2 separate regions of the Homo sapiens genome follow, and region 1 is linked to region 2. Evidence: promoter capture Hi-C in 16 types of primary human blood cells and fetal thymus (Javierre and others, 2016). All regions are on one chromosome and are shown on one strand. Each heading gives the region's core, a stretch centred on a gene start or on the middle of the fragment in contact. The rest is flanking DNA. Distances are from core to core; before and after follow the strand shown.

Region 1 (5,624 bases), core at 1,209-3,708, 260 kb after region 2:
AGGCGCCCACCACCACGCCCAGCTAATTTTTTGTATTTTTAGTAGAGATGCGGTTTCACCGTGTTAGCCAGGATGGTCTCGATCTCCTGACCTTGTGATCCGTCCGCCTTGGCCTCCCAAAGTGCTGGGATTACAGGCGTGAGCCACCGCGCCCGGCCATCTCATTGTAGTTTTTATTTGCATTTCTCTGATGATCAGTGATGTCGAGAACCTTTTCATATGCCTGTTTGCCATTTGTAGGTCTTCTTTTGAGAAATCCCTGTTCAAATATTTTGCCCATTTTTAAATGGGATTATTAAATTTTTTCCTGTGGAGTTGTTTGAACTCTTTATATATTCTGGTTATTAATCCCTTGTCAAATGGGGAGTTTGCAGATATTTTCTCCCATTCTGTGGGTTGTCTCTTCACTTTGTTGATTGTTTCCTTTGCTGTGCAGTAGCTTTTTAATTTGATGTTATCCCGTTTGTCCATTTTCGCTTTGGTTGCCTGTCCTTGTGGGGTATTACTCAAGAATTTTTTTTTTGCTCAGACCAGTGTCCTGGAGAAGCATCTTTATTTTTAAAGCCATTCATAAGAAGTAGATTTATACATAGTGTATAAATAAATCTGTGCTTCACAGGTGCTGTTCTAAGGTATTAGGAAGAATTGGTTAATCAAGAAACTAAGTTGGTCTTTATCCCCTGAAAAAGTCAAGAGGGTAAAAGCAAAGTCAGTGATAATGAATTTTTGCCAATTTTTAATTTTTCAGGGTGTCCTTTGGTAGTAATAGAACATGAAATTTTAGGGGTTCAATCATGAGGCACCAAAGTAATTTTTGTATCCAGTCAAGATGCCTGTAATTTTTGGTGTAATTGTGAAGGGTTTGGGTTGAACTGTTTTGAATAGCCATTTTTTGGTTCATTATACTTTCTCTGAGTATCATGTTTCTTTCTTTTCTTTTTTTGAAAGTCACTTCAGAGAGTTCTTATTCCATCTCCTGGGGCATCCAAATGCTGAAGCTTCCATTAAGGATGGTTTCATTTCTCCTCAAGTGCAATGTTCCCATGCAGAGGCGGATAAATCTCAAGTTTCATATTTGTCTAGGAAGCCCTTCTCGCCTCCCAGGCTTGAAATATGAGTGGACTAGCCTATTGTTTGCTTTAAGCTCTCCTAGTTTTGAAGTCTCATAGCAAATGAACATTTATTGTCAGAGAAATAAGATTTATATAATCGGTGGCTTTCAGTGGTCTGCAAACATTTTTAGTTGGGGGAGGGGAGTGATGCTACTGACGTCTGGTGAGTATGGGTCAGTGATACTGTTAAACACCTTACAGTGCTCAGGACATTTCCCTCCATGACAAAGAATTACCTGGTCCAAAATATCAGGAGTGCTGAGCTTGAGAAACTCTGACATATGTGAAATAGCTGGTGAATAGTATAAAGACAGTATATAGCTCTTTGCTGACTTGAGTGTTCCAAAAATGCTAGCATACTTCAAGATTAGATCAGTTTGAACTGAAATGGTCTGGGAAGATTTCTTGGAGAGGAGACAGACTTTAAGCTAGAAACAAAATGCTGTATTTAGAATAAAGCAAGGCAAACACCGCAGTTGAAAGAAATAACTTTAGCAAAGTCCCTGAGAGTAGACCGTGGCTTTGTGGAACACAAGAGGGAAAATCAATGTAACTAGAGGCAAAATTAGATAGGAAGGATAAGACAGTGAGATCAGATGATGGTTCTCTAATGGCAGGTTGGAAGTTTGTCCTTAAATATGATATGGGAGCAGGAGTCTTAAATAGAAGAGTAACATAGTGGGTGAGTATTTTGGAAAGACTAATGGTGTTGGTTGTTTTAGGAAGACAGAATAGATTGGAGTAGAGAGAGCTAGCAGAGGGAAGATAAAATAAGATTCTTGGGATAAGCAAGCTGGGCGTGGTGGTGCATGCCTGTAGTCCCAGCTACTTGGGAGGTTGAGGTGGGAAGATCGCTTGAGCCCAGGAATTTGAGGCTGCAGTGAGCTATGATTACACAACTGCACTCTATCCTGAGCAACAGAGTGAGGCCCTGACTCAAAAAGAAAAAAAAAATTCTTGGAATAATCTAGTGTGAACAATGAATCTTGTAGCAATTGGAATGGAAAGAAAGTAAGGCAGATTTGTAACCATTTGCCTTCCCTTCTAGAAACTTTATATATGTATCTTATTAGAAAGTTATTTGTTAGCATAAAGGTGATACTTGAAACAGGATTTGAACTCTGTGGAATGTAGTATATAGGGAGGGCTTAGGGACAGACTGTAGTAAAAATACAGTGGAGGAAAAGAGAGAAAGGAGGAAAAATAGAATAATATGGTGTCATGATATCCAAGAGTTTTAAGATGGAGGCAGTTAGCAATAGTAGAAGCCACTGAGATGTGAGATGAAGAATGAGGGTATTAGGGTACAGCTGTTAGATTTACTAAGAAGTAGTTTTGAAAGATCCTTTTCAATGGAAAAGTGGGGACAGAATCAAATTTCAAGCAATTAGAGAGTAGAAAAAAGTTAGTAATTGATGGCAGTAGCTGAATATTGATCATGAAAGGAGTTTGATCACAAAAGAAAGAGAGAAATAAGACAGTCTGGATCTATTTCTTATCTCTGGTATATTTACTTTGTTTCCAGTTATAAAGGAACTGGTGGTATCTGCTGGAGAGAGTGTCCAGATAACCCTGCCTAAGAATGAAGTTCAATTAAATGCATATGTTCTCCAAGAACCACCTAAAGGTAAACATCCCCTTACATTTGGATAACCGTTTTTTGTTTTTGAAAGAGATGGAGTCTTGCTGTGTTGTCCAGGCTGGTCTCAAACTCCTGGGCTCAGGAGATCCTCCCACCTTAGTCTTCCTAGTAGCTGGAACTACTGGCATACACTACCACTCCTGGCCCTTATCTTTTTCCCTCCTCTGACTTCCTGTCAGGAAAAAATGTATTTTTTTTAAGTTACAAATTTATATTAGCAGTCATCTTGAATAACTTCTTTCTAAGTTCTACATCTGCTATTTACTGGTTGTTTGACCAAAATAAACAGATTAATCTGAGTCTCAGTTTCTTTCTCTTAAAATGGATTTAAATACAACCTAATAAATATGTTCTATATTAATAAGCATCAGCTATATGCTAGGCACTAAACTGGTAACTTATCTACTATCTCATTTTGCCCTTAAAGTAATCTTATGAGGTAGGAATTATTATCCCCATTTTATTGAGAAAGAAATGGAAATTAAGAGAAGTCATTTACTTAGATTCACACAGATAATGAGTGGCTCAGCTGAGATTTGAACCCAAGCGTGACATCAAAGCCTGTGATCTCAAACCCTACATTATATAGTACCTCTCATATTCCATAAATATTTGTGCATACCCGGGTTATATCCTATCCTCACAGGACCGTTGTAAGGACCATCGTTTCCCATAGTGAGAACCCTGTCCCTGGGGGAAAAAAAAGCTAAGCCTAATGTGATATACAAAATTCAAGTTTATAAAATATATAAAGTATGGATGATTAATTCATTATTTAAGAAAACTTTTGTAATATGAACATTACTTTCACCTTTGAAGTATGTGTTAATATACCAAAGTTTGACTTACAAACACATATGGGTTCTCTTAACACTATTTAGGACTTGAGTGGTACATACTTTGATGGAAATTGAGCCAGTTGGGTTTATGTTATCATTAAAAGGTTAGTCAAGTAGAATGTCCTTCCCTATTTAGGATGGGGTCCTTCCATTTTAGGTACACACATCTCCAATACAGTATTCTTAATTTCTAGGCCTAATACCAAATAGCATATTAATGCAAAAAGTACTTTTCCAGAAGCAAAATGCCCTGTCTGTTCTATATTTCTGCTCTCAAATCGAGGTTTCCTTATCAATTCATTTCACATTCCTCTAGAGAAGCTTTTTCCTTTCTTCCTCTGGTGACAAGTTAAGGTGATTGGGTTTAGTGGCTTTTGAAGTTGGAGGTGAGGGACTGCCTTGAGCTGTTGATTACTACCATTCTTTTGTGAAAGACATGTTTGGCTCTACTGTATTTTCTTTCCTAACCCATATTTGCATGTACCTTTCTGTGGGTTACTATCATTTTGTAGATCAGTGTTTCAAAACATGTTAGTTTAGAAATAGATTCTTTGGCCAGGCACGGTGGCTCACACTTGTAATCCTGGTACTTTGGGAGGCTGAGGTGGGTGAATCACCTTAGGTCAGGAGTTCAAGACCAGCCTGGCCAACGTGGCGAAACCCCATCTCTACCAAAAATACAAAAAAATTAGCTGGGTGTGGTGGTGGGCACCTGTAATCCCAGCTACTTGAGAGGCTGAGACAGGAGAATCGCTTGAACCCAGGAGGCGGATGTTGCAGTCAGCCAAGATTGTGCCATTGCACTCCAGCCTGGGTGACAGAGCAAGACTCTGTCTCAAAAAAAAAGAAAAAAAAAAAAAAAAAAAAAAAGGCTGGGCGCAGTGGCTCATGCCTGTAATCCCAGCACTTTGGGAGGCTGAGGCGGGCAGATCACCTGAGGTCAGGAGTTCAAGACCAGCCTGGCCAGCATGGTGAAACCCCATCTCTACTAAAAGTAAGCCAGGCGTGATGGTGGGCGCCTGTAATCCCAGCCACTGGGGAGGTTGAGGCTTGAGAATTGCTTGAACCCAGGAGGCGGAGGTTGCAGTGAGCCAAGATTATGCCACTGCACTCCAGCCTGGGTGGCAGAGAGAGACTCCATCTCATTAAAAAAAAAAAAAAAAAGGGAAATAGATTATTTTCTCCTGTCCTCTCTCCAGGTTCTTCCACCTTTATTAGATATGTGAGATGGATGGTTTCAAACTTCCAAAGGTTGGGGGTGATGAGGCAGGACCAATTCTGCATGCTCTTTATCCTTCTCCTGCCCTATGGCAGCCCATTAGGATCCCTCCAGGTCCATTTTCAAAACCACTGTCCGGCTGGGCGTGGTGGCTCATGCCTGTAATCCTAGCACTTTGGGAGGCTGAGGCAGGCAGATCCTGACTTGAGGTCAGAAGTTTGAGACCAGCTTGGCCAACATGGTGAAACTCTGTTTATACTAAAAATACAAAAATTAGCCAGACGTGGTGGTACGTGCCTGTAATCCTAGCCACTTGGGAGGCTGAGGCAGGAGGATCACTTGAACCTGGGAGGCAGAGGTTGCAGTGAGCTGAGATTGCACCACTGCACTCCAGCCTGGGCAACAGCAAGACTTCATCTCAATCAGTCAGTCAGTCAATAGAACAAACGAACGACTGTCCTCAGTCACTGCAACCAGCACTCTTTCTAACAGAGTTACACTCAGTTGTTCCTACCTTTGAACATATTTCTGCCTGCGAGGCATAATTCATCCCCTGAGCTTTTCTGTCCTAGGAATATTGTCCTGTTTTGAAATTTATGTTGCTAGCCTTAGCTATTATAAAATTATCTGTTCCCAAACTGTTTTCTACATGGAAAAGAATTTCCAGCTACAGTTGGAAGAAATGTCTCTGAGTACAAGTCCTGCTTGTGCTGCTTCTTTCCGTCTCCTCTCGTAACATAACTACTACATACTATATACGTTTGTGAGAGCTGTTGGCGCTGACAACTGGCCAAAAAAATTCTTGTTTTGGA
Region 2 (5,697 bases), core at 3,103-5,602:
CAAAAATTAGCTGAACATGGTGGCTTGTATCTCTAGTCCCAGCTACTCAGGAGGCTGATGTGGGAGGATCACTTGAGCCCTGGAGGTGGAGGTTACAGTGAGCTGAGATGGTGCCACTGTATTCCAGGTGGTGTAAGAGACCAAGACTGTCTCAGAGAAAAAAAAAAAATTAACACACACAAAATTTTTTTTAATTCATAACTTGGCTGACTACTTGTAGTTTGCTTTCAACAACTTATTTATTGATTCATTGATTTACATTTTAGGGAAGAGGAAGACGAGGAGGAGGAATTTGGAGACTTTCGGCTTGTTTCAAATGATAATGAGTTTGATAGTGATGAGGTGAGTATGAAGGGAACAAAGTAATCATAACTGAGCTCCATGTATTGCTGCCCTCAAGTGTTTTTTTCCCCTCAGTTCTTGAGAATTCTAAGTTTGGCATCTTATCAGAAACAATTTCCTAGAATGAGGTATTTGGGCAGATGTTTATAAATCCTTTTTTCATTGAGGACGCATTTTATTCTGCTTAATTTGGATATGATGCTGATTTTGTAGGATGAACACAGTGACTCTGGTAATGATCTGGCACTGGAAGACCATGAAGATGATGATGAAGAAGAACTCCTGAAGCGATCTGAGAAGTTGAAAAGGCAAATGTACGTGTTATTAATATGTCCATTCCTTCAGGTGTATTTAAAATTTGGTCACTAGGCCAGGCATGGTGGCTTGCGCCTGTAATCCCATCATTTTGGGAGGCTGAAGCAGGCGGATCACCTGAGGTCAGGAGTTCAAGACCAGCCTGGTCTTGGTGACACAGGTCAAGAGATCGAGACCATCCTGACAAACATGGTGAAACCCTGTCTCTACTAAAAAATATAAAAATTAGCCAGATGTGATGACAGGTGCCTGTAGTCCCAGCTACTCAGGAAGCTGAGGCAGGGAGAATCGCTTGCACCCAGGAGGTGGAGGTTGCAGTGAGCCGAGATCGCACCACTGCATTTCAGCCTGGGTGACAGAGCGAGACTCTGTCTCAAAAAAAAAAAAAAAAAAAAAGTTGATCACTTAATATGTCCTGTGTGCTAATAACTGTGCTTTACAGGCATTAACATATTATCTTATGCCAGGCACAGTGGCTCACGCCTGTAATCCCAGCACTTTGGGAGGCCAAGGCAGGCATATTACTTGAGGTCAGGAGTTTGAGACCAGCGTGACCAACATGGTGAAACCCTCTCTACTAAAAATACAAAATACAAAATAAAATACAAAAATTAGCCAGGCATGGTTCTGGGCGCCTGTAGTGCCAGCTACTTGGGAGGCTGAGGCAGGAGAATTGCTTGAATATGGGAGGCGGAGGTTGCAGTGAGCCAAGATTGCCCCACTGCACTCCAGCCTGGGTGATAGAGCAAGACTCCATCTCAAAAAAATTATCTTATGAGTGGGTACTATTATTCTCCTCATTTTACAGTTGAAGGAACTGAGCCTCAGAAAGATTAAATTTACCCAAGATCACATAGCTAGAAGGCAGCAGAGGCTGGATTCAACTTAGATTAGGTGAAATCTCCCCTAACAGTCAGTTAATAGTTTGCCACTTTTTAACTTAAATCCTCCTGCCTCAGCTTCCCAAGTAGCTGGGACAACAGGCATGTGCCACCACACCTGGCTAATTCTTTCTATTTTTTGTAGAGATGGGGCCTTGCTTTGTTCCCAGGCTGGTCTTAAACTGTTGGCCTCAAGTGATCCTCCTGCCTCTGCTTCCCAAAGTCTGGGATTACAGGCATGAGCCACCAGGCCCAGCTTTTTTTTTTTTTTTTTTTTTTTTTTTTGAGACGGAGTCTCGCTCTGTCGCCCAGGCTGGAGGGCAGTGGCATGATCTCGGCTCACTGCAACCTCCGCCTCCCGGGTTCAAAGCGATTCTCCTGCTTCAGCCTCCTGAGTAGCTGGGAATATAGGCACGTGCCACCACACCCAGCTAATTTTTGTATATTTAGTAGAGACGGGGTTTCACCATGTTGGTCAGGATGGTCTCGATCTCTTGACCTCACGATCCACCCGCCTTGGCCTTCCAACATGCTGGGATTACAGGCGTGAGCCACCCCACCTGGCCGGCCCAACTCATTTTTTTGATATGCTGTTCTGGTCATGAAAGTAAAATATTTATTTTAGGATATTTAAAAGAATACAAACTGGGTGCAGTGGCCCACGCCTATAATCTCAGCACTTTGGGAAGCTGAGGCGGGTGGATCACCTGAGGTCAGGAGTTCGAGACCAGCCTGGCCAACATGGCGAGACCCCGTCTCTACTAAAAATACAAAATTAGCCAAGCGTGATGGCCAGTGCCTGTAATCCCAGCTACTCAGGAGGCAAAGCTGGAGAATCGCTTGAACCGGGAGGTGGAGGGTGCAGTGAGCTGAGATTGTGCCATTGCATTCCAGCCTGGGCGACGAGAGAAACTCCATTCTCCCCGACCCCCGCAAAAAAAGAATACAGAAAGATATAAATAAAAACTTATCCATGTCCACCATCCAGGATATAAATGAAAGTTAGTTTGTTCCCCTTAATCTTTTTTATGCATATATTTTTATATAGTTGAGATTTGTACAATCTTTCTATATGTATAATTTTGCATCTTTTTTTTTCTACTTAGCATATCCAGAAACATTTTCCTATGATGTTAAAAAAAGTTTTATAAAGATAATTCTAATAGGTATTTAATATTATATTGTATGTGAATGATTTGGAATTCACATATAGGACATCATATTGATCCCTATTAGATTTATATGGTTGCTTTTATCCCATCATTTCATTCTATTAAGATTCACTTTGGGTTCTAATTTATCACCTATCAAATTAACTCTCATACAGCTTTAGGTTATCCATAGATTTTTCTAAGGTAGTGGTTCTTCTCTGCAGAGCTCTTTGTTCAAATAAAATCTTTTAAAGAATGACAGATAAAAGTTGAACTGTTCAAAGATGGTAAGTGGGAAGTTTGGGAAACTTAGTGACTAGTGGCCTCTGAAGGAATTTTCCAGGAACTCTAGGATTTAGAACAACTTAGCTTTAAGAAAATACAGTATAGGCTGGGCGTGGTGGCTCATGCCTGTAATCCCAGCACTTTGGGAGGCTGAGATGGACAGATCCCCTGAGGTCAGGAGTTCAAGACCACCCTGGCCAACATGGTGAAACCCTATCTCTACTAAAAAAACAAAAATTAGCCAGGCATGGTGGCACGCACCTGTAATCCCAGCTACTCGGGAGGTTGAGGCATGAGAATCACTTGAACCCAGGAGGTGGAGGTTGCAGTGAGCCGAGATGGCATCTCTGCACTCCAGCCTAGGCGACAGAGCGACACTTCATCTCAAAAAAAAAAAAAAAGAGAAAATACAGTATAGGTCTTCGATAAAAATCAGTTTTCAGAAAGCCACCAAACTTCTGCCATTTTGGACCACATGGGACCAAGGTGACTTTGAATCCAGGGTGACACCAGATTTATTCTCCGGGGGAGCTGAAGTCATAAGAAGTAACTAGTCGTTTTGATTACCAGGAGCTCTGAGCCTTAGTCTTCCTTCTGATGTGGGGGTCAAGATTTGTTAGGCTGTAAGAAGATCCCAGTTTATTACCTTTCTACACCACACCATCTCTAGTTTGTCTCTTAAAGCTGGTGTGCTCAAATGCAAAATGAAATAGTTTGAACCTTCCAGCAGGTATTCTAATACATGTAAAAGAGATTAAGAGTTTTCTGGCTTTCAAATCACCCAATCTAAGTTGAATCCAGGCTCTGCTACCTTCTAGCTATGTGACCTTGGGTAAATGTAATCTTTCTGAGGCTCAATTCCCTCAACTGTAAAATGAAGAGAATAATAGTACCCATTCCTATGATAATATGTTAATGCCTGTAAAGCACAGTTATTAGCACACAAGACATATTAAGTGATCAACTTTTAAATACAGATGCTCCACATCTTACAATGGGACTATATCCTGATCAATCCATCATAAGTTGAAAATGCACTTTCATATTATCCAGATATAACTCCATCGTAAATCGAGAAGCATACTAAGTGCGTATCACATTCATGTCATCGTAAAGTTGAAAAATCATTAAGTCAAACCATCATAAGTGGAGACTATTACAAAAAAATTTAAATATTATCAAATGTATTATGTTTATTATTATTAGAAGTGACTCTGTTCTGCTTTTCTTTGCTTCCATATTCTGTGAGTATATTCATTGTTGCATTTTCTAATCCTCAAAATTGCTTTCTAGGAGGTTGAGGAAATACCTGGAGGATGAGGCAGAGGTGTCAGGAAGTGATGTGGGAAGCGAAGATGAGTATGATGGGGAAGAAATTGATGAATATGAAGAGGACGTAATTGATGAAGTACTTCCTTCTGATGAGGAACTGCAGAGTCAAATCAAGAAAATACACATGTCAGTATCCCAATAAGCCCTTCTGAGTAATAGGGTACATCTTAAGACAAGCCCTGTAACCAGCCAGAATGGTCCTTGTTTTGAACACCTTATTTCTCCTGTTGCAGGAAAACTATGTTGGATGATGATAAGCGACAGCTACGTTTATACCAAGAGAGGTACCTTGCTGATGGGGATCTGCACAGCGATGGTCCTGGGCGAATGAGGAAGTTTCGATGGAAAAACATAGGTATCTTGGTTGTTGTCTTTAAAAGCAATCAGTTACGGGCTGAGCATGGTGGCTCACGCCTGTAATCCCAACACTTTGGGAGGCAGAGGCAGGTGGATCACAAGGTCAGGAGTTCAGGACCAGCCTGAACAACATGGTGAAACCCCGTCCCTACTAAAAGTTCAAAAATTAGCAGGCTGTGATGGCACGCGCCTGTAATCCCAGCTACTCAGGAGGCTGAGGCAGGAGAATTGCGTGAACCCGGGAGACGGAGGTTGCAGTGAGCAGAGATCATGCCATTGCACTCCAGCCTGGGCGACAGAGCGAGACTCCATCTCAAAAAAAAAAAAAAAAAAGCAAACAGTTACAATGCATATTTGTCGAGTTTCAGATGGCAAATGGCAAGCAAAACTATAACAGGCTATGTGAAGACCTAGTTGTAACTGTTTTCTGTTAATGGATGGGAAAAGTTTACATCATTATATAGTAAATGATAAGGGTTTATTTTTTGTCTGTCCAAGCACCCTCTCCTGTGAGGACTGCCGAATGCTGATTACCTTCACTCTTTGTTTAGATGATGCTTCCCAGATGGACTTGTTCCACAGAGACTCTGATGATGATCAGACTGAAGAACAGCTTGATGAGTCAGAAGCCAGGTGGAGGAAGGAGCGAATTGAACGAGAGCAGTGGCTTCGGGACATGGTAGGAGTTCACCTACTCTGACCCTAGTTTATGAGACTGTCCCTTAGCTTGTCATGATAGTTTCAAAATCTTAGCTTGTCATGATAGTTTCAAAATCTTAGGCAACATATTGCTATCTCTTTTAATCCTTGAGCTATCTTTTGTGTTTTGAGAAGGCTATACCATAGACAGTTCTCTTCATGTTTGTCTAAGATTAATTTTTTTTTGTCTAAAGCAGCAAAGGCTGCAAAAAGGAAAACAAATACCCCAGGAACTCTAGTTTCACAATCCAGGCCATGCTAACTATTTAGGAAGGTTATAGACTTTTAATGCTGTATATATATATATATATATATATATATTTTTTTTTTTTTTC

Evidence for each region. The method cuts DNA at HindIII sites, captures the fragments that hold promoters and counts their contacts. A CHiCAGO score of 5 or more calls a contact.
Region 1: a contact is called between a fragment that was not itself captured here and the fragment with the promoter of CLSPN-AS1 in region 2, in 7 of 17 cell types (M1 macrophages, endothelial precursors, naive CD4 T cells and 4 more). The highest score is 5.6, in M1 macrophages.

The regions. Positions count from the first base shown.
Region 1 is chr1:35,471,920-35,477,543 of GRCh38, reverse strand. KIAA0319L (KIAA0319 like) reads left to right here. Exons shown (of 21, transcript NM_024874.5): 5 at 2,638-2,739. Among named protein-coding and RNA genes, the nearest start is that of KIAA0319L, 83 kb to the left of the region's middle. The HindIII fragment of the contact is 2,916 bases long and covers 1,001-3,916 here.
Region 2 is chr1:35,738,100-35,743,796 of GRCh38, reverse strand. It overlaps CLSPN-AS1 (CLSPN antisense RNA 1), which reads right to left and starts at 4,352. Exons shown (of 2, transcript NR_199043.1): 1 at 4,284-4,352; 2 at 221-634. It overlaps CLSPN (claspin), which reads left to right. Exons shown (of 25, transcript NM_022111.4): 17 at 267-342; 18 at 556-656; 19 at 4,268-4,432; 20 at 4,540-4,661; 21 at 5,215-5,342. RefSeq lists enhancers at 4,059-5,258, 5,002-5,503. The HindIII fragment of the contact is 7,776 bases long and covers 1-5,697 here.